Regions from separate parts of the Homo sapiens genome. Here regions 1, 2, 3 and 4 are each linked to region 5. Evidence: promoter capture Hi-C in 16 types of primary human blood cells and fetal thymus (Javierre and others, 2016). All regions are on one chromosome and are shown on one strand. The core of a region is centred on a gene start or on the middle of the fragment in contact, and the rest is flanking DNA. Distances in the headings are between cores, read along the strand shown.

Region 1 (5,259 bases), core at 1,575-4,074, 290 kb after region 5:
TTTTGATTACCACTCTCAATTGTGATCACTTGTTATAACAATCATTCATAACTTTAGTAATTTTAAAATTTAACACATAAAAATTTAAAAAAGAAATATGTTAAATATGATATATTTAACCAATTTTTGAAAAAAGGAAAAGAGAAAAAAAACAACCAAAAAAAACCAGAAACAAAAACAAAAACTCTGGGAGGGGGATGAAGCCCAGATTTCAGCTCCCACCCTGCTATAGCTTGAATGTCCCCTTCAAAACTCATGATGAAATGTAATTGCTGTTGTGATAAGGATGGGACCATTAAGAGGTGATTAGGCCAAGAAGGCCCCACCCTCATAAATGGATTGATGTTGTTATTGTGGAAGTGGGTTTGTTATTTTGAGGGTGGGTTGTTATAAAAGTGAGTTCTTCCCTCTCTCAGTCTGTTGGTCTCTTGCCCTCCACCTTCATATCACTGCATGAAGGCCCTCACCAGATACCAGCACTATGCTCTTGGACTTCTCAATCTCCAGACCTGTAAGCCAAATATATTTCTGTTTATTATAAATTACCCAGTCTGCAGGATTCTGTTACAGCAGCACAAAAGGAACTAAAACACACTCCACAGGCAGTGACTACTCACTGTTTTTCCCGGATAACTGCTGGGCAAGGGACTGGCTTCAATGAAGTACTTTCTCAGCAGATGTTTGCTGGGGTCAGGACTATCCAGCAAGATGTAGGAACAGAAATAGGCCCCATGCCGAAGCAGGAATATTGCAATGTCTTCATTCCCTAAAGGAACAAAACCAAAAAGCTAAGGGCATGCAGATGCTAGTGTCACAGTCGTTGGAAGGGCAGACTCTGATATGTGGAATGGAAACTGAAAAGGTACTTGTGCATGTTGGACTTCTCTATTTACTTCCCTTGGTGCATCAAGTTTCTGTTAGTGGGAGAATTTCTGTGGGGCTTTGCCCTTTGGAGTGCCTCGTACAACAGTCCCATTAGCCACAGTCAGTCTCTGTCACTGAAATCCCCTTGCGGGGGCAAGTAAGGAGGAAATGAGGAAGGGTGCAGATATTTTGAAAAAGAAACATAGAACAGGAGTTGCAAAAGTCTCCTCACAGAGGTGATTTGAGAGCCAAGAGTGAGAATAAAGACACAGTCCCACATCTGGAGGCTGAGATGGTTTGCACGGTCAGGGTTGACTCAGGGTAGTGGGGAAACCCACCTGACTTGATGGCCGCATACAGGGGCAAGCGCACGATGACAGGGAACTCATTCTTCCTGACAGCGTAGCTCTCCGGGTCAGCCCCGTGCGTCAGGACCAGGAGCTTCACAACCCCCAGGTGCCCTCGCTGGCAAGCCAAGGCCAGCATCCAGTTCAGAAGCCGCTGGGGACTGCAGGGACCTGGCAGGAGATGGCAGGACAAAGGGAAAGTGCCACTGAAGGGTGCTGTTTGTTCCCACTCTGCTCTTCCCTTAGACCGCTAGTAGCAATGGACTGGTTAAATAAAATGTGGTACATTTGCACCATGGAATACTATACAGCCATAAAAAAGAATGAGATCATGTACTTTGCAGCATCATGGATGGAGCTGGAGGTCATTATCCTAAGTGAACTAACGCAACAACAGAAAACCAAATACTGCATGTTATCACTTATAAGGGGGAGCTAAACATTGAATGCACGTGGACACAAAGAAGGGAACAATAGACACTGGGGACTACTTGATGGTGGAGGGAGGGAAAAGGGGGAAGGTTAAAAAATTACCTATTGAGTCCCATGCTTATTACCCAGGTGACGAAATAATCTGCATACCGAACCCCGGCAACATGCAGTTTACCCACGTAACAAACCTGCATATGTACCCCTGAACCTAAAGTAAAAGTTAAACAAAACAAAACAAAACCCAGCTGTCCTGTTTCCAGCTGAAAGTTGCTTCTGTTGAGTTGATAGTGTTTTCTGGAATAGTCTCTCTGAATTGCATATGACATTTCCCCACATCAGTCACCCACCTGCTTGTCAGATAATGCCGAGTGATGAAATGGAGGATTAAAAATGGCGTATCCAGCATGATCTTAGCCAAATAAAAAATGGGTGTGTGGAAATAAGACTAGAAACAACTACCCCAGCATTGTGGTATTTTCTCTGGGCTCTCCCCTGCCCTCACCCCTCCCCTAGGGTAACATTACATGCAGGAGTATGAACTTTGGAGACAGGCATTTTAGAAATAAAATAATTTAGTATGTAATTTTGGACACATTTCTTAATCTCTCTCTGTTTCAGTTTGCCTGTTGGTAAAATCGGAATAATAATACTCATTCTTCCAAGTTTAATGTGAGGACTACATCACAAAATGCATGTCAAGTGCCTGGATCAATAAACCCTAACTCATGATGTTGTGTCATTGTATTATTAAAGTACTGACACTTTCCCACATTTTAAAATTATCTATAATATACATATATTACTTTCATGAATAATAATAATAAAAGCTTTGGTGAAAGATCTGTCAGGCCTAAAAGTGACAATTTCTCCCCAGTAGAACCACCTACTTAATTCCAGGATGAAATAACACTTAGCACATTGAATTGACGGGGGCAGTGTGGGCTGAAATGTTACAATATCTTCAAGTTCAAAATAGTGCAATATCTTTTGGGTCTAGTTGCCATGGAAAAATGACCTCATCTTCTGCAGGGACACTTCCCAAATGCATCATAACACTGCCTCATTTCCAGAGGCACATAGTCCTAGGGATCAAAGTGCTCCCAAGTGAGGAGAGAGTGACTCTCTCCTTCGCGACAGGACATTGATCAGGAAACCGGGGTCAGGATGGCCCTGTATTCACCAAATAAAGCATGTAGCATAGGGCTGAGGCTGGAGCCAGTGCCAAGTAAATATCCCTTCTTCTCCCTCTACTGTTAACCAGAATTAATGATTTGTAGGTATGTTAACAGAAAATAAGTGACCCCTAATCCACTTACACAAGAATATCTGGGTAAGAGAAACACAGTAACCATGCTAGTAACTTCTGTTGAGATGGGGATGTGTCAGTCTTTGGAGGCAGGCATTATATTTCAGGACCATGATTTTAAGATGAGGAAACCAAAGCTCAGAGAGGTTTGGAAATGTAGGAGATTGGTCAGAGTCGTAGGAAAAACTACAGGGAAAGGACACAAACCTTCTGAAAGTTTGGAAGCTTCTGCAGAGCCCTGGGGGAGAACAGCTGAAGGCAGAGGGCAAGGAGTGTAGGGGAATGTATCTTAAACAGGCTTGTTTACTTATGTTGACCAGGAACTGACCTTTGATCATCTGCTGGCTTGATGTTCCCTGAAAGGGGAACAATAAATGTTAATTACCTACAGGTTGTGTTGGCTCCAGGTTTTCGGCATTGTGCCTGCACTGAATGAAAGCAAGCAGCTCTAGCTTCTTCGGGCTGCTCTCTGGCCAACAGAGCCAGGCAGTGACTCAGCTGCTCTTACACCGTACACCTGTGTCTGAGTACTCATTTCATCCATCAGCCAGGGTCTGTGGGACACACCTGGCAGGGAAACTTCTTGAAGGTCCCACAGTTAGTAAATAGCAAGGTCAAGACTTAAACCTTGCTTTGTCTAAAATCAAAGGGTGCTCTCTTAACCACACAAAACCCCTACAGGTACTCTCTACAGCCTAAGGCCAACGACACTCAGAGGAGCCCCTCTTCCTCCCTGCTCAGCTTCAGAGACCAGGAATCACATAACAACGTGCTTCAAAGAATGCATCCCATCAACCTCTCATCCCTCTTCTTCTCAAACCCTCCTTTGTTCTCTAGCTGCTTCTTGTTTTTGTTTTTTGTTTGAGACAGGGTCTCCTTCTATCTCAGCCTGGAGTGCAGTAATGTGATCATAGCTGACTGCAGCCTTGGACTCCTGGGCTTAAGCCATTCTCCCACTTCACCCTCCCAAGTACCTGGGAATATAGGCATGTGCCACCATGCCTGGTTAATTTAAATTTTTTTTTTTTTTTGTAGATACAGGGTCTCACTATGTTACCCAGGCTGGTCATGAAATCCTGGGCTCAAGTGATCCTCTTGCCTTGGCCTCCCAAATTGTTGGGATTACAGGCATGAGCCAGCATGTCCAGCCTGACTCTTGTTTGTCTTCTTGTCTTGACTTACTCCTGACCATGGCTGACTTCCCTTCCAGCTTGGGAACTCCTTTGCAGGAAGTGCAGGGATGGGTACACACTGTTTTGCCCATCTCTGCACTTTCTGCAAAGCCCACCACAATGGTCTGAAATCCTTCAGTCCTCAGCAGCTTTGCTCAGAGTTGAGCTGAAGATACGATGCTCCTGGGAGCAGTTGAAAACCATGACGAGGTTCAGCCACACTTCCTGCTCTGCAAAAGCAGGCAACCCAAGTCCTTCCTTCACTTGTCTGCCAAGTAAACTCCTATTCACTCTGCAAAGCCCAGGTCAGATGTCAGCCTCCCTTCGGAGACCCTACCCTGCCCCCTGATGTGTGCTCCCAGACCTCTGCGTAAAAATACTTCAACCTCAGTGTAGTTACATTGCACAGTGTTACTCCTTTCTGCCTCAATTTCCCCTGCTTGGCCAGGAGGTACTAAATGGCTGGGAAAATCTTTAAAAAAATTATCTGTCTCTCACGTTCTACACAGTTTTCAGCACTTGACAGTATTCAATAAATATTAGCTAACATTAGGTGACGGAGTCAGCTGGTGCAGACTCTTCAGGGCTAGAACAGAGCTAATCTTGGGGCTCCCCGAGAAGAGGCAGGTCAGCCTTTGGCTCCTCAGGAGCACCCAAGCTCCTCTCTGCCCTCCTATGTCTTGTCTTAGTATGCTTCTCATGGGCCCTAAAATTGCCCTGATTTCTGCCCATAACCTCATTCTGTTCAGACACATGAGGGGAACACTAGCTTGGAACCAACGCTGAGCACAGATCTATCAAAGCCCACAGCTGGAAACCCTCAAACAAGACCACTATATAAGGGGTGAGGCCCAATGCAAAATGAAAAGAATGGGGCTTCTTGTTTAAAAATCATGAAACATTTTAAGATAGTGAGTACAGAGTATTAAACGTAACGTGGGCCCTTCTAGGTGCAGGGCCCTGGGTGACTGCATGTTCTCCCACCCAAGAGGTGGGCCCTGGCTCCCAAGCAAAATCTCAAATCCCAAAGACCATGGCTAGGGTGTGCCTCACCCTATAGCTGTAGCGATGCCTGCCTAGACTGGTGCAGTGTTTCTGAGCCAAGACCACCACGGGAAATTACAGGAGACCAGGACAT
Region 2 (5,272 bases), core at 501-3,000, 340 kb after region 5:
GTCACCAGCAGGGCGACTGGGAGGAGTGGGGAGCCATAGTGGGCAGACTCCTGTGGATCTGGCCCCTCTCCAGCTTGTGCCAGGCAGCCTGGGACTGATGGGTCTACACTCGATGTGGGCTAAAGAGAAAGTGTGCTGGGCAACTCCCAGGAGGCACACGGAGCCCACCACCCGGAAGCCATGCTCTGGATGTCCCCAAGGCAGCCTGCTACAGTCCCCTGGCCCTCCTCTTCGCAGGCTATTGTGACAAATGCTGTGTTCACAGACAGCTACGGGGAATCCCGAGCAGAACAGTCAGCATCCACCCAGGCACCCGCAAGCATCTGAGGAAGAGCAGCGCCATAAAGAGAAGCACGAAACTCCTCTAACCAAGCCAGCACACAGGCAGGCCACCGATCAGCAGGAAGAGACATCCCACCTTACACACACACACACACACACACACACACACACACACACAGAGACATAGACACACACAGACACACACACACACACAGACACACACACACACAGAGACACACACAGACACACACAGAGACACAGACACACACATACAGGCACACACACACACACACAAAGACACACACAGAGACACAGACACACACACACAGACACACACACATAGACACACACAGACACACACACGGACACACACAGAGACACAGACACACACACAGACAGACACACACAGACACACACACAGACACATACAGACACACACAGAAACACACATGCACAAAGACACACAGACACACACATAGATATGCAGACACACAGACACACATACAAAGAGACACACACAGACACACACACACAGAAAATATTTATGTTTCCTCTTTATGTAGCCAAGGGCACAGGCTCATTGGAAGCAGTCTGATCACCTAGGGGAGAAGCTGTGTCATATTTCACCACTGTCCCCCTTGGGCCTCAGAGTCCCCAGGAGGAAGTGAGCAGCTGACAGTGACAATGTCTCTGCAAGGCAGGGTCTAGCCAGGTCAGAGGGCCTGCACATCTTGCTGCATCCTCACATTACTGTTCGGGGCAAACCTACACAAATCACACAGTCACTGAGATAAGACAGCTTTGGGCTTTCCTGATTCACAACACAGCTTGGTATTGTCAACTGTTCATCCTTATCTTGGAGGAAAAGACTGAGTTAGCATGGGAGCTTCCCTAAGCAGAATCTCAGGCTCCAGCTTTCCAGCACCTCCAGGGCCCCTCTCTACACAGAATTAATGTTAGCAGAGCGAGAATGAATTCAGAATAAATATTACTGATGTCTTGGAGAGAAACAGGAGGATGCAGCATCCACAAACAAGAATCAACTAAAACTCTTGGGAATTAAAACGAGAAGAGTTGCACTGTGAAGCACAGTGGGTGAGCTGCAGAGCAGAGACACCGTTGAAGGACAAATCAGGAATCTGGAAGACCAAGAGGAGGATGCAGCACCAAAAGACAAGGAGGCCGGGAGCAGAGATAAAAGAGTGAGAGACATTGAAGATATTTTTTGAAGTTTTTCAAAATGTGTCTAATGAGAGTTTCAGAAACATATACTTAAATAAATAAGAATAATTTTCAAGTTGCAAAAATATGAGTCCTCAGAAGTGACAGGATACTAGTCAAGAAGAGTAAATTTAGAAAAAAGAAGAATGAAGGACTAGTGAAATAAACAATCTTATGGAAAGACTGATCAACAACAAAATGAGAGAGAGAGAGAGAGCAGGACATGTGAGAACACAAAAGCATTATCTGAAACAAAGAGATAAAACTATATTAGAGAACTTAAAATCATGGCATCATCAGCAAAGGACACAGGGATTCTTGGAGAAACAGTGCATCGTGCATCCGGGGCAGGATATGGACAATCTGGCCCTGGATGTCTTGTCACATCAGAAAGCAAGGAAGTTATCAAAGACTTCTGGGGTCATGCCAAAAGATAGAGGAACCTACTCAGGGGGCCTACTGGCAAAAGAGGAACAGCGTTAGCATCAAGAATCAAATAAATTAAAATTCATGAGTTCATAATGATACTAAGGAAAAAAAACCCCACCTTCATTGGCCGCCTTCAAAAGGTGCTAGGGAATTGACTTATTTTCAGTAGAATGAATAAGAAAACTAAGAGAAAAAAACCCAACTATTTACCCCGACTTTGCTGTACAAACTGTAACTCAGGGTACCACAGAGTTAATGGAAGAAATTTCTTCTTTAGAGATCACTTTCAGCTGATAAATGAAGAAGGTAAGATAGACTTAAAATAACACCACTTTGCAACCTCAAATTAAATAATTGATCTAAGCAACCATCAATGACTGATAAAACCATTGTGTGAAAAGTCGAAAAACCATTAGGACGTTTATAAAGAGTGATTGCGCTGACACCACTGAAAATCATTAAAAAACTCTAAACATCAGAGAGAGACAATTAGACATTCTGTGACTAGGTGATGCAGGAGGAAGAACCCACCATCTATTGGGCATTTTTGCCAAAACATCTTACTAAATCTAATCAGGCCTCTGGATCTACAAAAACATAGGGAAGGTGGGAACATGTCAGGCCACACATAGAAATGCAATTGCCAAAAATCCAGACTGTGGAAAATTGCAAAGGACAAACAATATGGCTTTATCAACAAAAGAAACTGCAATGAAAAAGAAATTGAGGGAGAAAGATAGAAATTAAGAGACTTAGGAACTGTACTGTCCCATGTCCCAGCATGCAAGGGCACTGACTCAACAAACCTGCCCCAAACAAACCAGTGATAAAAACAGAGACAATGCAGGACATTTGAACACTGACTAGATATTTGATATTTTGACTTTTTTATTTATTTTGAGATGGAGTTTCACTCTTGTTGCCCAGGCTGGAGTGCAATGGCATGATCTGGGCTCACTGTAACGTCCATCTCCTGGGTTCAAGCGATTCTCCTGTCTCAGTCTCCCGAGTAGCTGGGATTACAGGTGCCCGCCACCATGCCTCGCTAGTTTTTTGTATTTTTAGTAGAGATGGGGTTTCTCCATGTTAGTCAGGTTGGTCCCAAACTCCTGACCTCAGGTGATCCACCCACCTCAGCCTCCTAAAGTCCTAGGATTACAGGCATGAGCCACCACACCCGGCCCTCTCCAGCCAAGGGTCCAGCCTGGGTCTCCCCTCTCAGAAGCCTAGCCTGTCAACAGCATGCTATTGTGGGCATACATTAACATACACTTTTAAACATACATTTAAACGTATGTTAAATGTATTTTGTTTTTTCTTTTCTAGACTTCTTAAGCTATAAGTATGGAATTGGGTTCTAAATCATCTGGAAAGAGAGAGAAGGGGGTTTACATGGATGCAGATTGGCCATGTGGGGGAAGGAGGGAGGATGGCAGAAGGTGGGTTACCTGCATGGGAGGAGTAAGTTCCAGTGCACCAGAGCACTGGAGGGGGAATCGAGTTAACAATAGTTTGTGGTCTGTTTTCAAAAAGCTAGAAGAGTGGCTTTTGCATGTTCCCAACACCAAGAAATGAAAAATGTTTGCGGTGATAGATATGCTAATTATCCTTATTTGATCATTACACATTGTATACATGTATCCAAGTATCACTCTGTATCCCATAGACAAGCACAATTATTACATGTCAACTAAAAACAAGAGGGTTAAAAAAAAGATTGCCCATGTGTGATAATTACTGAAATTGGGTAATGGGTACAAAGGGGTGCATTTTAATATTCTCTCTACTTGTGTACTGTGTTCAAAAGTTTCTGTAATAAAAAATTTTAAAAAGTGGCCGGGTGTGGTGGCTCACATCTGTAATCCCAGCACCTTGGGAGGCTGAGGCAAGTGGATTGCTTGAGCTCAGGAGTTCGAGACCAACCTGGGCAACATGGTGAACCCCCATCTCTACAAAAAAAAAAAAAATACAAAAATTAGCCAAGCATGGTGGTGTGCGCCTGTAGTCCCAGCTACTTAGGAGGATGAGGTAGGAGGATCGCTAAAGCCCAGGCTGTCAAGGCTGTAGTGAGCCGAGAGGTCGCCACTGCACTCCTGCTTGGGTGACAGAGTGAGACCCTGTCTCTAAGTAAGTAAGTAAATAAATAAAGAAATAAATAGGCTGGGCGCAGTGGCTCACGCCGGTAATCCCAGCACTTTGGGAGGCCGAGACGGGCGGATCACGAGGTCAGGAGATCGAGACCATCCTGGCTAACACGGTGAAACCCCGTCTCTACTAAAAATACAAAAAAATTAGCCGGGCGTGGTGGCGGGCGCCTGTAGTCCCAGCTGCTTGGGAGGTGGAGGCAGGAGAATGGCATCAACCTGGGAGGCAGAGCTTGCAGTGAGCTGAGATCGCGCCACTGCACTCCAGCCTGGGGGACAGAGTGAGACTCCGCCTCAAAATAAATAAATAAAATAAAATAATAAATAAATAAATAAACATTTTAAAAAAAGAAATCTAAGACAAAAATATAACATTTTAAAGTTCCACGTAGCTAAAGACTTATGAAAAGAGAAAAATGTGCCATTTTGAGTCCAGGCCTAAAAACTGTGGTTTCTGAGGCCAATAAAAAAGGGGAACTAAATAGTAGCCCTGATTCTTTGGAAGAGACGGCAATTGGTAGTAAGTTTGGGTAGGGGGCGGGAATGGGTACTTTTTATTGTATTCCCTTTTGTACTTCTTTTAAATTGTGTGTAAGTATATGATTCATCTATTAAAAATGAATAAGATAGTTTAAAAATATATTTTAAAATCCTGAACCATTATCAACTTCATGCTAAAATATTCGAAAATCTAGATTAAATGGATAACTATCTAAAAATTGTATTGCATAAAATAACTCAAGAAGAAATAGAACATTTACATAAACCTATAACCTTTAAAGACAGAGAATCAATAGTGAGACATCTACCCATTAAAAAGCACCAGGCCTGTATGGTTTTATAGGCAAAGTGATGTATTCTGCTTCTTGGAAAATATAGGACATACTTATATTATCAAACTTATGTTGGTTGAAGAAGCAAGATGCAAAAAGACTGGCATAGTATGAAAATATTTAATCCAACATTTTTAGTATGGAAACTGTTCTGAAAGGAGCAGGATTGACAAAACAGGACTCTGGTTACCCCATCCCTACCACAGCTGGACAATGAGCCAGCTGAGATGCCTCCTTCTCCCAGCTGAAGTGATAGCACCCAAGCTCAGTTTCCCATGGGTCTAGTGGCTCATCATAGAGGACTGCACATCCCACAGACCCCAAGTTGCCCCATAGAAGCAGCCAGCACCCACAGCTAGCATG
Region 3 (5,192 bases), core at 176-2,675, 260 kb after region 5:
GGGAGCTCCCGGAGGCCAGGGTTGCTGAAGACAGATGTGTCCACCACGAGAGAATACACACACACACACACACACACACACACACACACACACGCACACACGTGGCTCCTGTCAGCCTCTGCAGCCTGTACCCCAGACCCCACACTTTGAGCCCTGATTTCAACACTAATTCCAAAGGCTTTCTCCTGGAGGATCAGTGATAGAAACGGCAGCTCTGTCTTCTGCAAATCCCCACGGCTTAGAATTGAGTCCCCTCCCCCAACTTTCCTGTCTCTGCTACTAAGTACATCCCCATAAAGATGATCACTACCTCTTCCCGAGAAGGCGATGTCCCTTTAATATTAATATAACATTTTACACTCTCATCAAGCTTTGCACACTGCCTAGAACCCCTGGCAGTAGCTGGCATGCAATGGGAGCTCAGTAATGAAAGGATGAATGATTGAGTGGTTCTCCTCATCACAGCCCAAGTGATGTAGTGAAAGTGTGTATCATTGCATTGCTACTCCGTCTTCCTCTCTCCCCACCTCCTTGATCAAGCCCTGTTCCGAAAATCTCACTACTGCTTCTTGGAAAGTAGATGGCTTCTTTCTGCCTGGCTTTCTGTGTCCCAGTTGGTTTAGGGATGGGCGTTCTGCCTCTCTGGGCCAGCAGAGCCAGCACGGCCCCTCCAGATGTGTACTTACTTTCCCAAGTAGAGCTCTGATAAGCTCTTCAGTAGGCAAACCGAGGGAGGGACTGTGTCGAGGTGGTTGTCGTTCAGGCAAAGGACTTCCAAAGACTCACTTAGGAAGGCCGGAAATTCCAGCACACTTGCTGCAAAGACATGGCAAAGCAGACTGCATTTAAAAATAATTCTGGACCGTCACAGCGTGGTGACCAGGTGGGCGTATAAACTGATGCAACCTCCAGAGGGCATTTTGGCAAGCCTATCAGAACAAAATGCTCACCTCATCGACCTAGCAATTCTCATTCTACAGATAGCTTTGCATGCATGTGTGGCAAAGATGTGAGAATGAGGACACTCAGTGGCAGAGATAGAGGACAATCTACAACAACCTATGTGTCCAGCCACAGGGGGTTGGTTCAATGAGTAATAGAATAATTGCAGCTATTACAAAGTATGGGGCAGGTCTACATATATGGGGGTATGAAGTAATACTCAAGAGCTACCCATCAATTGAAAAGGCAAGGTGCGCCAGGCTGGTGGCTCACGCCTGTAATCCTAGCACTTTGGGAGGCCGAGGTAGGGGGATCACAAGGTCAGGAGTTCAAGACCAGGCTGGCTAAGATGGTAAAACCCTGTCTCTACTAAAGATACAAAAATTAGCCAGGCGTGATGGTGGGCACCTGTAATCCCAGCTACTCGGGGGGGCTGAGGCAGGAGAATTACTTGAACCTGGGAGGTGGAGGTTGCAGTGAGTTGAGTTTGTGCCACTGCACTCCAGCCTGGGTGACAGAGCAAGACTCCATCTCAAAAAAAAAAAAAAAAAAAAAAAGTTCAGAACCGGATATCTAGAAGGCTTATTAGTGTAGCAGAAAATGTGTGCACACATGCATGCACACACACGCATACCATGTATATGTTATATGCACACACACCACACCTGCACATGTGTATGCACAGAGGTTACAGTTGTTAGACAGGAACACAATGGTTACCAGAGATGCACTGAACTCCATAGTTGTCTCTGGGGAAAGGAATTACTAGAGGACTGAATATTTATCCCATGCCCTTTGCTACTGTTCAAAAACGGTGTTTTAAAATATACATGCGTTGCTTTTTCCATGAAAAAAAGCTAGTTAATGAAAATATACCACAGTTGGCTGTTTTTATGCTTCTTACAATGCCATTCTTTGAAAAGCCAGCCAACTGTTTAGTATTTAAGTGACTTTATTAATTAGGCTCACTATGAGATTACCATGAAAATCATGTCAAATTTGCTGTTTCCACGGGCACCAGAGCATTTGAGTTGAGAAAGAGCTTGGAAACGCACACTGATGGGAATCAGAGGTTTGGATTTCAGCAGAATCTCTGAAGTGCCTTTATCCTCCCTACTAAGGCCTGGAGAGGGGGCAGGACAGCATGCCTGGGAGCTCGGAGAATTCAAGATTAAACAACTGCCTCAAAGCCCTCTCATAGGGTTCCCTGCCAGACATGGAAAATAGAGAAGCCGGAGTTCTTTTGTTGGGCTGAAACCAGGCTCGGTTGCCCTTGATCATAGCTACCCCGCCTCGGCTCTGGCTTTCCTCCACACATGTAGCTGCAATAACAATGGTAATGGGTAACCTGGCCTCTGAGAACATTCAGGGAGAGCCGATAATGGAATACCAAAACCAATGCCTGGAAAATCTGCCCAGCTAGCTGTACTGTGAATGGGACTCACTGCAGGGGCTCCTGCGGAAATAAAGGTGCACCGGCCTTCTAAAGATGGCTTTGTATGAGTCCTTGCTAGGTAAGGAAATGTTCAAAAAGCTTCCTTTTTTTTCCTTCAATGAAAAAAGATGATCAATATTAGCCTGCCCTAATTCACATTTTCATGAAAGAACGTCATAATGAGAAAGGCTTACTTTCTCCCCAGAGAACACATTCTAAACACCTGGCCTCTGTGCTTTCCAAACTTTTAAAGTTTCGCTACGGTGTTTATGAAGCCTCTTTAAGTAAGAGATGGCTGGAATAATGAGCTATGATTGCAAACAGAGGCAACACCTGTAACAGACCTCCTGGCCCAGTGTTGAAAACGATGGGCACTGAGCTGGGGAGAACACAGTTCAAGGTATTTAAGAACTGTAATTATTTATTCATAAGTTATTTATGACTCTGCTGGTCTGATTTTTACCGTAAAAACGGCCATCCAAATTATTTTTGGATGAGGCCACTGCACAAATATGACTATTTGGATGTACATAAATCTACTTGGAATTTTACTATCCTACTGCAAACAAGCTGTCTTTTGTAGATAATTCCTTACCCAAGGGTCCATGGCCCTGGGAGAATAACCCTACTGAGGAAAAGGGTTTGCAAAGAGCCGCCTTCTTTTCACTCAGGTGTGGGCCTCAACTTTCTAGATGAAGTTTAAAGAATCAAGAGGCCTTTGTCATCTGCCAAGGCCAAGATTCACCTCTGCCAGAGAACCTCCCAGGGGCGCGGCCCCCTCACATGGCTCCCCAGATGTACTTCTGCGGGCTGCCAGCTGTCACTTTCTAGAGCATTGGTACCGCGCGTAGTCCTATGGTGCTTTTCCATGCATGCCTGTGATTTTCCCCACTGGCGTCTCATTGAGTGCTGAGCCCACTTCCTTGCACACTCCTCCGTGGTCCCAGGAAGGATTCGGCATTTCTAAACTGGAGACACGTTTCTAATCCACACAGCAAGTGGCTTGCGTGACCGAGGTCTACACTAGCTCCTGTTCTCATACCCATCATCCCGCCTGGCATGAAGGAGAAGATGGTGTTTGTTTCCCCTTCCTTCTAAGTGAAATCCCTATGTCTGGACTCAATTTCTACAGTCCTAAGGCTCTTCATTTATAAAAGGATCAGTTATGAAATTCATAATTGCATTTCCCTATTCGTGTGGTTAAGGACCTTTTCATTTGTTTCCTGGCCCTCTGGACTTCCTTTTCTGAAAATTGTTTATATCCCTTGCCCATTTTTTTTGCCTATTGTGTTGTCTTTTTTTTTTTTTTTTTTAAATCAATTTGTAAGCATTCTTTGTATATCAGGGACTTAAGCCAATTTGTGTTGCAACAATTTGTGTTGCAAATATTTCTTCTTAGTCTGTTTGCATTATGACTTGGTTTATGATGCTTCCCACTGAACACAATTTTTGAATGTTTATGAAGCCAATGATTTCAGTCTTTTTAAAAAATTATTCCTGGATTTTCCAACTAGATTTTAAAGATCTCCCTCATAGCAAAGTTATACCTATATTCCTTAAATGTTATTGTTTTCTTTTTTTATACTTAAACCTGATTGTTGTAATCTAGTATCGTGTTTTGTCCCCCTTCCAGGCAGGAATATCAACACCGTTTATTAACGCACGCAAGCATCCTTTTACACTAAGTTGAAGTTCTGCCTTTGTCATATATTACATAATAACAGTCCCCAACCTTTTTGGCACCACGGACCGGTTTTGTGGAAGACAATTTTTCCATGGACTGCAGCATTGGTGAGGGGGACAGTTTAGGGATGAAACTGTTCCACCTCAGATCATCAGGCGTTAGATTCTCATAAGGAGGGCACAACCTAGAGCCCTCACAGACGCGGTTCACAATAGGGTTCGCGCTCCTATGAGAATCCAATGCTGCCGCTGATCTGACAGGAGGTGGCGCTGATGCTCACTGGCCCACCGCTCACCTCCTCCTGTGTGGCCTGGTTCCTAGCAGGCCAGGGACCAATACCGGTTCGCTTCCTGGGGGGCGCTGGGGACTCCCGATGTATTTCTATGTTTACTGAGGTCTATTTTTGGACTCTTTTATCTGGTCCACTGATATTCCTTTTTCAGTCACATATAAATACACACGCTCTTATGGGACAGATCTCTATGTGTATCATACTCAACACACAAGCACACCAGTTCATCCAAGAGCGTAGCAGCGGCAAACTCCCTAGTTCACCTCCTGCAAATGTGTCCTGGCCTCTGTGGCGTCACTCATCCCTACCTCATACTATCTGTACTTGCCAACAACCATCTATCAAACTGAAGAAGAAAGTTGTATTATGTTTAAAACAACCTGGATGTGGGTTCTGGTTTTCTGGGCCAGCATCCTGAGGGATATTTCTGTGAGCAGAGCTGGCTTTGGAAGTTGTAGCTTTGAGGTTAAGAAGCAGAGCTGGTTGTTTAATGAAAGGGACAGCTCCATACCTTCCCCTGTGTCTCACAGAAGATAATGGAACAAAAAGAGCTTGTTTACCTAGATGTACTCTCTGCTGAACTGGCCTTGTTGTGTGACCAGCACAAAAACTAGGAAAGTTCTGTCTCTGTTGAGTTTTGGGGAAGACCACGAGCCCCTGTGCAACCTTGGCCTCACCTCAGCCTGTGGGTCCAAAGGCGGCCGTGATCCATGTGGGCTTTGCAAGATACCATCGTGTGGCAGTAGAGACTTAACAGCACGTAGCTGCTGGTCCAGGGCTGAAGTCCCACAGTCCTGGGATGAAACCTGGCTCTGCTACTGAGAAGCAGCCACACAACC
Region 4 (5,876 bases), core at 2,685-5,184, 330 kb before region 5:
TCCAATTGTGCTTGGCTGTCTGGAGAGTCTCTTCTAAGAAAGTCCCTGCCCCGGGGAGCAGGGGTCAGGTGGTAATATAGCAGTCACGCAGAGAGGAGGCTGGGGCATTGGAGGACAGAGGAGGAACCAGCTCCGGGCTAGGAGAGGGGGAGCTGCGTTGGGTTCGCAGCCTTTGCAGGCCCCACCCAGGGCCCTAGTGTTGCTTTAGGAGCTGGGCAGCCACAGCTGGTGGGATGAGAGTTAAGTCCTGCAAACAGCAGCCTGGCTGCACTCACTGGAGAGCGAGAGTGGGTATGACCCAGGGTGGTGGTGATGCCGACAAGTGGCTGCACCCAAGGACTGTTTAGGAGTGAAAACCAAGCAGACGGTGGGAGATGGGCATGTGGGGAGCAGGGGTGTCCGGGAGCACCCAGGCTTCTGGATGCACAGTGGGAGGAGGATGGTAGAGGGGACTTGTGGGCCCGGGACCCGTATCGAGCAGTGCTGAGTCTCTGGGTCTAGAGCCCAGGAGCTGTTGGGCTGGACATACAAACTGAGAGTCCTCAGCACCTCAAGGACACTAAAGTGACAGCAAGATGAGAAGAGAGCAGGCCCACAGTGGCCTGCCCTGCCACCAGGGGCGTGAAAACCTGAGACATTCATCCTGTTGGCCTGGCGCCTGCAGCTGGCCCCCTGCCTTGCGTGTCACGGAGGCACTCTGCCTTGAGGGTAGAATGTTCTGGGAAGGCACTGTCTGGTGTTTGGTTAAATGACAGGTCAGGCTGAGCCTTGTGCATTTATGGGAGTTGATACATGTGTGTATAAATACATATGTACATATACACACATTTATACCATGTGCACACACACATACACACATGTGTATGCATAATATACAGTCATTTGCACATATATACACATACACCTATCTACAGTACGGGTGTATGTATACATATCAATATTTATTTGTAATTTCTGTCCTCTCTCCCTCCTGAATAACCTAGCAAGTTAGACCTTAGCTTTATGCTTTATTCTTCTCTCATCTACCTTTTTTTTTTTTTTTGAGATGGAGTCTTGCTCTTTGGCCAGGCTGGAGTGCAGTAGTGCAATCTCTGCTCACTGCAACCTCCGCCTCCCGGGTTCAAGCAATTCCCCTGCCTCAGCCTCCCGAGTACAGGTGCTCACCACCATGCCCGGCTAATCTTTTGTATTTTAGTAGAGACAGGGTTTCACCATGTTGGCCAGGATGGTCTCGATCTCCTGACTTTGTGATCCACCCACCTCGGCCTCCCAAAGCGCTGGGATTACAGGCGTGAGCCACCACGCCCAGCTCTTTCATCTACCTTTCACTAGTGAGACCATGAAAGGGGACATGTGGAAGCCAAGCCGCTGCTAACAGGCCCATGAATTCCCGACTTAGCGACACTTTGTTTAAGCACAGGGAGATGCAGCTAGGCGTGGCCAGGGCAGACTGCAGACGGGGCTCCTCGGACACTGAGCCACGGCTTTCTTGAACTAGGTCAGACATCAGACGCTGTTTTAAGGAAGAAAGGATGACCCGAAGGAGGGCCTTTGGTTGAGGCCTGGAGGAACAGTGGGGAGGAGGGGCAGGTGATAAAATGAGCAAGTGGGGGCAGGGCGGGGGCAGCCTTGGGTAGGGCACTGGTGAAGGGCAGTCAGAGAAAAGAGAGTCTCTTCTAAGAAAGTCCACTCTGAGCCCTGCTTTTGAGTAGGATCTCTCTAAGAGTGCAGCGTGGAGCTTGCAAAGGCTTCACTAGTTAGACCTGGGACGTTGGCCCGAGCATGACAGCAGGAATGGAGAGGGGTGTGCAGAGGGTGACGCAGGAAGGGGAGGACTGCGCCTGGGAGGAGGGGACCGTCACTGGCCCCACAGTCTACAGGCTGCCTCCCAGGCCAGGGCGGTCCACTCACCTCAGGTCTTTCCGACCCTGTCCTTGGGTACTGTGAGGCTCTCTGCATCACCCCCATACTCACATGTCCTGCACTTGCTGTTTCTGGGGTCTTCCCTTAGCATCTTGCTTGTGGGAGAGGTTGGTCCTGTCTGCACACTGAACCTTGAAGACATCCGTCATGCTGACCCCCGACCCCAAGGTGTCCCCTCTGTTGAGAGGTGCTCCAAAGCGGAGTGTAGCCCTCTTCCCTCATTAGCACAGGCTCTGGGCAGGCAGCCTCTGGGACCTCGGCCCCACCAGCCCAGCCCCCTTGGCAGAGAGCTCTTGGGGCTCCCTGCCAGCCGCGCAGCGCCCAGCGTTGCCCTAGTAGCAGGGACGGCTTGGGAAGGGTTTTATCTCTGGGAAGGGACTGTCTCCTCTGGGTTTTATTATAAAGGCTAGTTGGTCCCTGGGAAAGTGGAAAAGGAAGATCAGATGACCTGCCTGCATTTTGTTTTCTCTTGGCGAAGGCTGAGCTATCTGATGGCAGGTCCTGAGATCAGCGTCTGGGGCCAGTTCCCAGGGATAGGCTATCCCAGCAGGACCGCAGCACCTGCTGATGCCCCTGCAGCTGCCAGATCCTGGGAGGTGGCATCACTGTGCCTGCCATTAAGGTGGACGTGAGGCAGGACTTCATCCTGGAGCTGGAAGAAGCCTCAGGGTCATCAGTCCTCAGAGTGGCATCAGGCCCACCCTCACCGCACAGGTGGGGCCTCAGGCCTGGGAGCGTGACCGACTGGCCCCCAGTCTTTCCACCAGCCAGGAGTAAGGTCGGGACTAGACTCCTGACTCGCTGACCACCATACCTACAGCCATTCCCTCACTCTCCTTCAATGACCTCAAGTGGGGGCAAAAGAGCGGCTGCCATGACCTCAAGGACTCTCAGATGCATGGCAAACGGCAGGTCTGACCGTGCCGGAAAGGGTCCAGGGGAAGGCTGCTGCCTCCATCCTCGGGCCAGGACATGAAGGGGCATCAACGTCAGGGCAGAAAACAGGAGCAATGGGAGGTCCTGAGTGAATCCTGCAACAGAGAAACTCTTGCCTGCACCCTCTCCTCTGTCCCCCCTCCACCGCCCCATCTCAATGCCACAGGCTGAACCGGAGACCTGTCTTGATGCCAGAGGGGGCCAGCAATTGCCCAAAGAATGCGGAGCTCCCCCTGGTTTGTTGCTGGGGGCCCTTAATCCCAGTGCTGTGCTGGAGCTGGCTTGTAACATTCAATAGAACCAAGCGTTAAATGTGCTCAGATTTTGTGAGCCAGTTGTAAATATAGGCATTATTCACAATTAATCATATGAACTTATAATCAAATATGTTAACAAACACCCCTTCCCAATGAGTTTTACTACTTTTGCTATTTTCTATGCTTTGAGGGTTACTTGCATCTATTATATCAATGCCGTGGGAAGAGTATATAGTGACAGCTACTGGGCATCTCTTCCCAAGCCCACAATCTGTGACGTCACATTGAAAGCTTGGGATTGGCCATGATAGGAGTATTTACACCATGGAAGTTGGCAAACACTGCAAATCAGAGCTTGTGTTATTGTTTTGTTGATTTTCTAGGCTTAAGAAAGTAATAAAAAATTGTTAATAGTACAGATTCAACTTATAAGTGGGTCATGTCTGGGGCCATTTGTAGCAGTCTGGCTCTAATCGGGAGACAGAAATCACACAGCAGGTTAAACAGGGGAAATTTAAGTTAAAATTATTAACAGTTGTAAAACAGTAAGATAGGCCGGGCGCGGTGGCTTATGCCTGTAATCCTAGCACTTTGGGAGGCCGAGGTGGGCGAATCATGAGGTCAGGAGTTCGAGACCAGGCTGACCAACACAGTGAAACCCCATCTGTACTAAAAATACAAAAATTAGCCAGGCCTGGTGGCAGGTGCCTGTAATCCCAGCTACTCGGGAGGGTGAGGCAGGAGAATCGCTTGAACCCAGGAGGCAGAGGTTGCAGTGAGCCGAGATCATACCCCTGCACTCCAGCCTGGGCAACAGAGCAAGACTCTGTCTCAAAAAAAAAGAGTAAGATAAAAAGAAGCTCTATGCAGTATCCTAGGGCTGAGGGAGCTCCCAAAGTAAAAATGAAGTTGTTTGGGGTTCAGACATAGCTGGAGAGGGTGTGGTTCAGCCACTGGATAGCAATGAAGTTTAGCCCAGAGCACACAGCTACAGCTGGTTTGGAGTTGGTGGACACACAATAGGCACCCTCTGGAGGGCAGGCAGGGAACAGGTGATTAGTAACCAAAGGCGTGAACTGCAGTGGGAAACTGAGTGCCCCCAGGGCAGAAGGCCTTCTGGGTGCTGAGGTTGCTTGGCGGGTGGAGAGGTTGCAGAGGAAGTGGCAGGCTGCGTAGTGAGGTCGGAGGCCAGCTGCTGTGTAGACAGTCACCGCCAGGCATGGCCACAGAGTCATTGTGTTCTGGCTCTGAGGCTCCGTCCGACTCCACGGGATAGTCTCCGCTTGGCTGACCTTCCTGGAAATTACAGGAAAGTCCTTCCAGCACCGTCTACTGAGAAAGCTTCACATCCTGTTCACTTTAAATTCAAAATGGTTAAAAGGTTCCAATCTTTGTCCTAAAGCACATATTGAAAGGTGCATTCAGAGCTGAGATGCAATAGATTAAAAACTGCCTGTGTGAGTTTCCTGTGGCTGCTGTAACAAATTACCAAAAACCTGGTGCTTACAACAAGGCACATTTGTTCTCTTACAGTTTTGGAGGTCAGAAGTCCCAAATCAGTTTCAGCAGGATGGAATCAGGGTGCCATGAGGGCCGCTCCCTCCAGAGGCTCCAGGGGGGTCTGTTTCCTTGCCTTTTCCAGCTTCTAGAGCTGCATTCCTTGGCTCGTGGCCCCTTCCTCCGCCTTCAAAGGCAGTGGCTTAGCGTCTTCAAAATTCTCTCCACGCTGTCTTCTCATGGCCTTCTCTTCTATGTCAGATTTCCCTCTATCCTCTCTTATCAGGACATTTGTGATTGCATTTGGGACCCACCCATGTAATCCAGGATAATGTCTCCTTCTCAAGATCCTCAACTCAATCACATCTGCAAAGTCCCTTTTGCCACATAAGATACATTTGCAGGCTTCATAGATTCAGATCTGCGTATATTATTTGAGGGCCATTATTTAACCTACTACACTGATGCACCCCTATATTGTGACAAGCAAAAAAATTGAGGATTTATTCTTCCAGTGCTTAAAAACTGTGGCCTGATTGATTCAGCAAGGAAGTCACTTGTGACATTGATGAATAAGTGAACTTCTGATATTCGCCTTCATTGTCTCACTTTTACTTGTTAACATAAATGAAAATATCAGCCTCATGAGAATGAAACGAAATGAAAATAGCCAACCCTCATGTGTAAAGCACACTTAGTCATCATATGCAAACAGACATAGGCTGTAGATACAAGAGTTTGGAAAAACTCAACAAAGGCATTCTGTGAGGATCAACCAACTATATGCAGCTTATAATAAAGGATATTGTATCATTATGTTTTGTTGTACATTCTTTATATCAGTAACATTTATAATAAATTATCTCTTCATTTATATGTGTATGTACACCCCACACACACACACACACACACACACACACACACACACACACACACACAATCTTTCCCTCCAGAGGGCCAGCTGTTGAGCATTTATCAGCCCACCACTGCTTAATACTTATTTCCAGTAGGGAGGTAGAGGGAGCCTAAGGCCCCCGAAAAGGTAAAGTGCTCTTTGCACCTGAGGGTGGACCTTGCAGTCCCGAGCTCTATGGTGAGCCTGTCACCCACCGTGGTCAGCTACCTCCATCCACAGATGGTTAAATGGATCTGGATCAACCACCTCCGAGGATGCCTGTGTTTCAGCGGAAGATGAGGCTGTGAGTTTTCTGCATTTCTTCCCAGTACAATCCATCGATGGGGGGTTGTTGTTCCCTCTGTCTT
Region 5 (5,201 bases), core at 305-2,804:
AAACCATCCTGTTAAGTTACTGTATAAAAATAAAACTGCTCCCAAGCATTGATTGAAACTGTTTTGGTATGAGTTTCCTGAGAGAAAAGTGAGGCCCTAACCATTTTTTTCCATGAACTATGACCCCAGTACGGTATACCTAATGTCCTTCACAGCCTAACAAAATAGTTGAGGCAACCCTGCTCATCCTGTCTAGTTTATCAGTATTTAGATGTAAGGCGGATTTAAAGCTAATCTGGGACTGAGAATTGCAACTAATTCCATAGAAGTCATTCAATTTAGCACATAAATGTTCCTGCAAGATGCCAGAGCAAGTGAGAAATCATCTGTAGCAAAGCAAAGAGTGGTGATGGTTCATCACCTTTTACAACGGAAAGGCAAACATGAAGAAGGAAATTCTCCCTCCTAAAATTCCTCATTAAATCGATAAGCTATCTTCACAGCCTTTATGGATAACATCCAGAGTCCTCGGTTCATCTGAGGAGTCCATTTTCAAGGTGGCCAACAGGGAAGAAGAGCTTTCAGGCTTCTCTTTGCTATGGCTCATGAATGCCAGGTCCCCTTTATTGCTTTCTGAACACACTGCTGGGAAAGCTTGATGAGGTCAGTGCTCAAATCCCTGCAGCTGTCCCCCTTGAGGAACTTCTTGGCAAACCTGCATTGAAGAAACACTGATTGCGTTCACGCTTCATGTCATGGTTTGCCTTCCCCACACTGCTCCTGGCGACAGTGGTGACGCAGCACTCGGATGTTGTCACCTATTCATTATTTTTTCAGTTCTATTCCCAATTCCCAACCCTTCTTTTGAAACACAGCTAGGTATGTGCACTTCAAATGCTCCAGAAAAACCCAAGGTCACATTTCAAATAGGATGGTTATGGTCACCATAAAGGTGGTGACGTTTGAGTGGTGGAAGAGGGTGCGGGACGGCGTTGCAGGCAGAGGAACACAGCCAGGACACTATTATAAGTAACTCTGTGATCGTGTCTTGTGGTGATACAGTATAATTCAACACAGGTTAGAGCAGTTACTATGATCGTTCTTTCCTAAAAGGCTTTGATTTTGGAGAAAGAACCTTGAGGATCGGTGGGGACTTTCTTGGCCTGAAAGGTATCACCAGCAGCAGGAGCAGGAGGCTGCTCACATTTCGTGTCTTCACTTGGGGTGGACGTTGGCTGCAACCCTCAAATGCTGGGAGTCGTCAACCAACTGAGCCCTGTTGTCCAATGTGCCCCGGGCAAGGATGTGGGTGCAAATCCTGCTTCCGGGCGACCACTGACTTCCTTGGCTTCAGTGTCCAATTAGAAAAAAAAAAGAAAGTAGAAATTCGGTAAGAAATCCGTGAACGAGGTCCGTCCTCCACCCCCGACTCAAGCCAAGAGATAGCACAGAACGTTCCCACACGCGCTGTCCCGGCCCCGGCGAGCGTAGCCGGGATTTCTCCCCCGCCACGCCCCTCGGCCACGCCCCCCTGCGTTTGGCCCAGCGACGGGGCGGGGTCGGCCTGCGATTGGCCGGGACCACGACCGCGTCCGGGCGCGCCACGTGTGCGTAGGAGCGCACCGGAAGCGCCCGGCTGGAGGCGCGGCGGCAGGGCTGGGCGGCGGCGGCGGCGGCGGTCATGGAACGCCAAGAGGAGTCTCTGTCCGCGCGGCCGGCCCTGGAGACCGAGGGGCTGCGCTTCCTGCACACCACGGGTGAGTCGTTGCGGGGCAGCCGGGCGCGCGCCGCCACTTTTGCGACGCGCAGCCATGATGGGTGGGTCGTCCGCCGCTGCACCGGGCGCCGGAGCCTGGGAGGCCTGGGAACGGTCGGGCGTTGGCGCTTACGCGGACCTTGGGCAGCAGGCCCGGACCTTGCGCGGAGGCTTCTCGGGAGCCGCACTTCCCTGGGCGGCTCGGCTGTCCCTTGTTTGCGCAAGTCTTTTTTGCGAACCAAGCCCTTCCTGTGGTAGTTACTGGGGTCACTCGGCCGTTGGCGTTTGCCTCTGGGACCCGTCCCACACAGCCCCATACACACTCCTGACTCCCCGCGCTGTCACCCCTTTCTATGTGGCTCTGAAAGGCCTTTGCCTTCCTGATTCAGATTAGTTGCTCTTCATTCTTCAAAACCCAGTTGCTGTGCCCTCCACACTCTAACTGCCCCCGACTCCCCAGATGGTTGGGAAGTCTCACTTCTCAGTGATCCCTGAATTGTCGCACTTCTTGAGTTCGTGTTTTAACGATCTACTTAGGAGGCTTTTTCCTCAGCCTAGACCATGAAGGCTTTGAGGGCAGGAGTTACACTTTGTGTTTGTTGAGTCTTATGGAAAGGTCAACTAGTAGTGTCATTTTTAGTTTTTTGAAAACTGTTTTTCTTTTCAGTGGGCTCCCTGCTGGCCACCTATGGCTGGTACATCGTCTTCAGCTGCATCCTTCTCTACGTGGTCTTTCAGAAGCTTTCCGCCCGGCTAAGAGCCTTGAGGCAGAGGCAGCTGGACCGAGCTGCGGCTGCTGTGGGTTAGTGCCTGATAACCGAAATGAAAGCGGTGGTTTTGCACCTCCTTTATATTAAGAGTTAGTCTCTTAGTAAAAGTAAGAGGGGCCACACAGGAAGACCCTGTCTCTATTTAAAAAAAAAAAAAATAGCCGGGAGTGGCGGCACGCACCTGTAGTCCCAGCTGCTCAGGAGGCTGAGGCGGGATAATCACTTGAGTCCAGGGAGTCAAAGCTGCAGTGGGCTATGCTCGGGCCACACTACACTCCAGCCTGGGCAATTGATTGAGACCTTGTCTTTAAAAAAAAAAAAAAAAAAAAAGTAGGAAGTATATGGTTCTCGGTGGGGCGCGGTGGCTCACACCTGTAATCCCAGCACTTTGGGAAGCCGAGGCAGGAGGATGACTTGAGGTCAGGGGTTCGAGAACAGCCTGGCCAACATGGTGAAACCCTGTCTCTACTAAAAATACAAATATTAGTGGGGCGTGGTGACGGGCACCTGTAATCCCAGCTATTAGGGTGGCTGAGGCAGGAGAAATCGCTTGAACCTGGGAGCTGGAGATTGCAGTGAGCTGAGATTGTGCCACTGCACTCCAGCCTGGGCAACAGAGTGAGACTGTCTTTTCTTTCTTTTTTTTTTTTTTTTCTATGAGATGGAGTCTAGCCTTGTTGCAAAGAGCGAGACTCTATGAGTAGACGTTATGAATAGAAATGAGTTCATTTCTATTCATAATGCTATTTGGAAGGATTTTTCTTTTCTGTAGAAACAAATACTTAAGAATCTTCTGCGCTAATTAAGGGATGGATAATGATTTAGAAAACTTTATATTTCCTTGGTAGTCTTCCAGGATTCTAGTCAGCCTAGAGACTGTGGGTGTCACTGAGGTATCCAAGATGTGCTCTGTGTGGCCACTATCCCAGGCTTTATGAATCGGAATTGCTCAGGGGAACTCAGAAATTGGCATTTCTAACAGATTTCTGGTGATGTAGATATTTCGGGCTAAAATCCGTGGCTCAGCAACAGACCCCTGCCCCCTGAAGCAGTAAAATGTATGCAGAGGGGTTAGGAGTACTTATGTAAAAATATGTTGTTTCATTGTCTGATATCCATACCTCTTTATACTTTTAATAATATGGACACTCAAAAGTTTCTATTTTATATTGTACACAGTGCTTTATCTCCATTTTTTTCTGACATTTTAGAACCTGATGTTGTTGTTAAACGACAAGAAGCTTTAGCAGCTGCTCGACTGAAAATGCAAGAAGAACTAAATGCGCAAGTTGAAAAGCATAAGGAAAAACTGAAACAAGTATGAACTGGTTTCAGTTTGAATGTGTGCATAGAAATTGTCTGAGGTTTAGTGGCTAACGATGCCTGTGTCTGTGTTGTCTATAAGCTTCTAGGACCAGGTCCTATCCCATTAGATTCAATAAGCATTTCAGTTCCTACCATGTAAGTATTGGTGATATCAAGAAGAATACACGATTGTTAGGGAACACTAGATGTGTGAATATATTACCATGAAAGGTCCAGAGCACAAAAGGAGGGACAGGCTGGAGCAGGGAGCATGTGAGTGTGTGTGTGCATGTGCCTGTGTCTTCCCCATTACCAAAAATGTCCTGACAGGAGTGAGTTTCAGAAGAATGGAGTCAGTAATCTTTTTCATGAAACATTTTGCTTTCTTTAATAGTGTACAAAAACCAAAGCTGCTCTATGTGAGTTAAACTCACACTACCAGATCACAACAGTTTTATTAACTAAAGAAAACGAGGGTGAAGTTTGTTCTGAAAGACATTTAAATTAAGAATTATCAGAGTTAGCTTTGTCTTTGAGAGAAATGGCAGCTTCTGAATTCTTTCTGTAAAATGTGATTGTTTCTCAGCTTGAAGAAGAAAAAAGGAGACAGAAGATTGAAATGTGGGACAGCATGCAAGAAGGAAAAAGTTACAAAGGAAATGCAAAGAAGCCCCAGGTGACTGGAGACCTCGGCCGGCTGGCATGCGGTAGATGAAGATTGCCAAGTAGAATGTTTTAATTGCTTCTTACACTACTGTGTGTGTTCAAACAGGAGGAAGACAGTCCTGGGCCTTCCACTTCATCTGTCCTGAAACGGAAATCGGACAGAAAGCCTTTGCGGGGAGGAGGTAAGCACCACTGATGTCAAATGTTAACAGATTTTCAACACTTACAGGATATAGTTACCTTTTAGGAACAAGATTGTTTGTTTCTTTGTCCATAAATTAAGACTAATTCCTTAGGATTGTGAAGATTCAATAAAGGAAACAGATGCAAATCACCTCCTAGGTCCTCACTAAGTACTTAGAAGGATTGTACTTATAGTATTCTAACTTGATCCTTCTGCAGCCCCGTAGAGGGAGAGCTAAGTAGGGTGAGGAATTGTCTGCCAATCTTCAGATGAGTGTCAAGGAGCTGGAACACAGTGGTTTTGGTCTTTCTGGCTGGGACCACCTTGTTTCTTGCAAATAACAAGGAGTAGCAGACAGATGCTCATCCAAAGCTGCTTCCTGTGTGCAGCACTGCCCCGGGGACTCTGGATGATGCCACAGCAGTCTGTCTTCATCCCATCCCTGAGAATTTCAAATCTGGGAAGATGGGACTCACAAACGAAAATAAGCAATCCTTGGTGATTCTGGCTAAGAGTTGCAAGTTACTGCTGAGGAAGGAAAGAACAAACACACTAGAACACTGTAGGAACCAAGGCGGAA

Evidence for each region. Contacts are between HindIII fragments. The CHiCAGO score rates a contact against its expected background, and 5 or more counts as called.
Region 1: a contact is called between a fragment that was not itself captured here and the fragment with the promoter of SELENOS in region 5, in 2 of 17 cell types (M1 macrophages and M0 macrophages). The highest score is 5.8, in M1 macrophages.
Region 2: a fragment that was not itself captured here is called in contact with the fragment with the promoter of SELENOS in region 5 in 1 of 17 cell types (monocytes); the score reaches 5.9 in monocytes.
Region 3: a fragment that was not itself captured here is called in contact with the fragment with the promoter of SELENOS in region 5 in 10 of 17 cell types (megakaryocytes, M0 macrophages, endothelial precursors and 7 more); the score reaches 14.9 in megakaryocytes.
Region 4: a contact is called between a fragment that was not itself captured here and the fragment with the promoter of SELENOS in region 5, in 1 of 17 cell types (megakaryocytes). The highest score is 6.5, in megakaryocytes.

Annotation. Positions count from the first base shown.
Region 1 is chr15:100,984,757-100,990,015 of GRCh38, reverse strand. It overlaps LRRK1 (leucine rich repeat kinase 1), which reads right to left. Exons shown (of 34, transcript NM_024652.6): 5 at 1,203-1,382; 6 at 618-766. Among named protein-coding and RNA genes, the nearest start is that of LRRK1, 68 kb to the right of the region's middle. The HindIII fragment of the contact is 704 bases long and covers 2,473-3,176 here.
Region 2 is chr15:100,936,653-100,941,924 of GRCh38, reverse strand. All of the region lies in intron 2 of LRRK1 (leucine rich repeat kinase 1), which reads right to left. Among named protein-coding and RNA genes, the nearest start is that of LRRK1, 20 kb to the right of the region's middle. RefSeq lists enhancers at 58-207, 248-387. The HindIII fragment of the contact is 8,526 bases long and covers 1-5,272 here.
Region 3 is chr15:101,016,677-101,021,868 of GRCh38, reverse strand. LRRK1 (leucine rich repeat kinase 1) reads right to left here. Exons shown (of 34, transcript NM_024652.6): 13 at 687-816; 14 at 1-24. Among named protein-coding and RNA genes, the nearest start is that of LRRK1, 100 kb to the right of the region's middle. The HindIII fragment of the contact is 2,106 bases long and covers 373-2,478 here.
Region 4 is chr15:101,606,756-101,612,631 of GRCh38, reverse strand. The region is part of intron 2 of LINC02348 (long intergenic non-protein coding RNA 2348); the gene reads left to right. Among named protein-coding and RNA genes, the nearest start is that of LINC02348, 4.6 kb to the left of the region's middle. RefSeq lists an enhancer at 1-302. The HindIII fragment of the contact is 1,050 bases long and covers 3,410-4,459 here.
Region 5 is chr15:101,273,838-101,279,038 of GRCh38, reverse strand. It overlaps SELENOS (selenoprotein S), which reads left to right and starts at 1,554. Exons shown (of 6, transcript NM_018445.6): 1 at 1,554-1,697; 2 at 2,364-2,498; 3 at 3,678-3,784; 4 at 4,358-4,447; 5 at 4,544-4,619. The coding sequence starts at 1,622. RefSeq lists a silencer at 1,349-1,678. The HindIII fragment of the contact is 1,843 bases long and covers 597-2,439 here.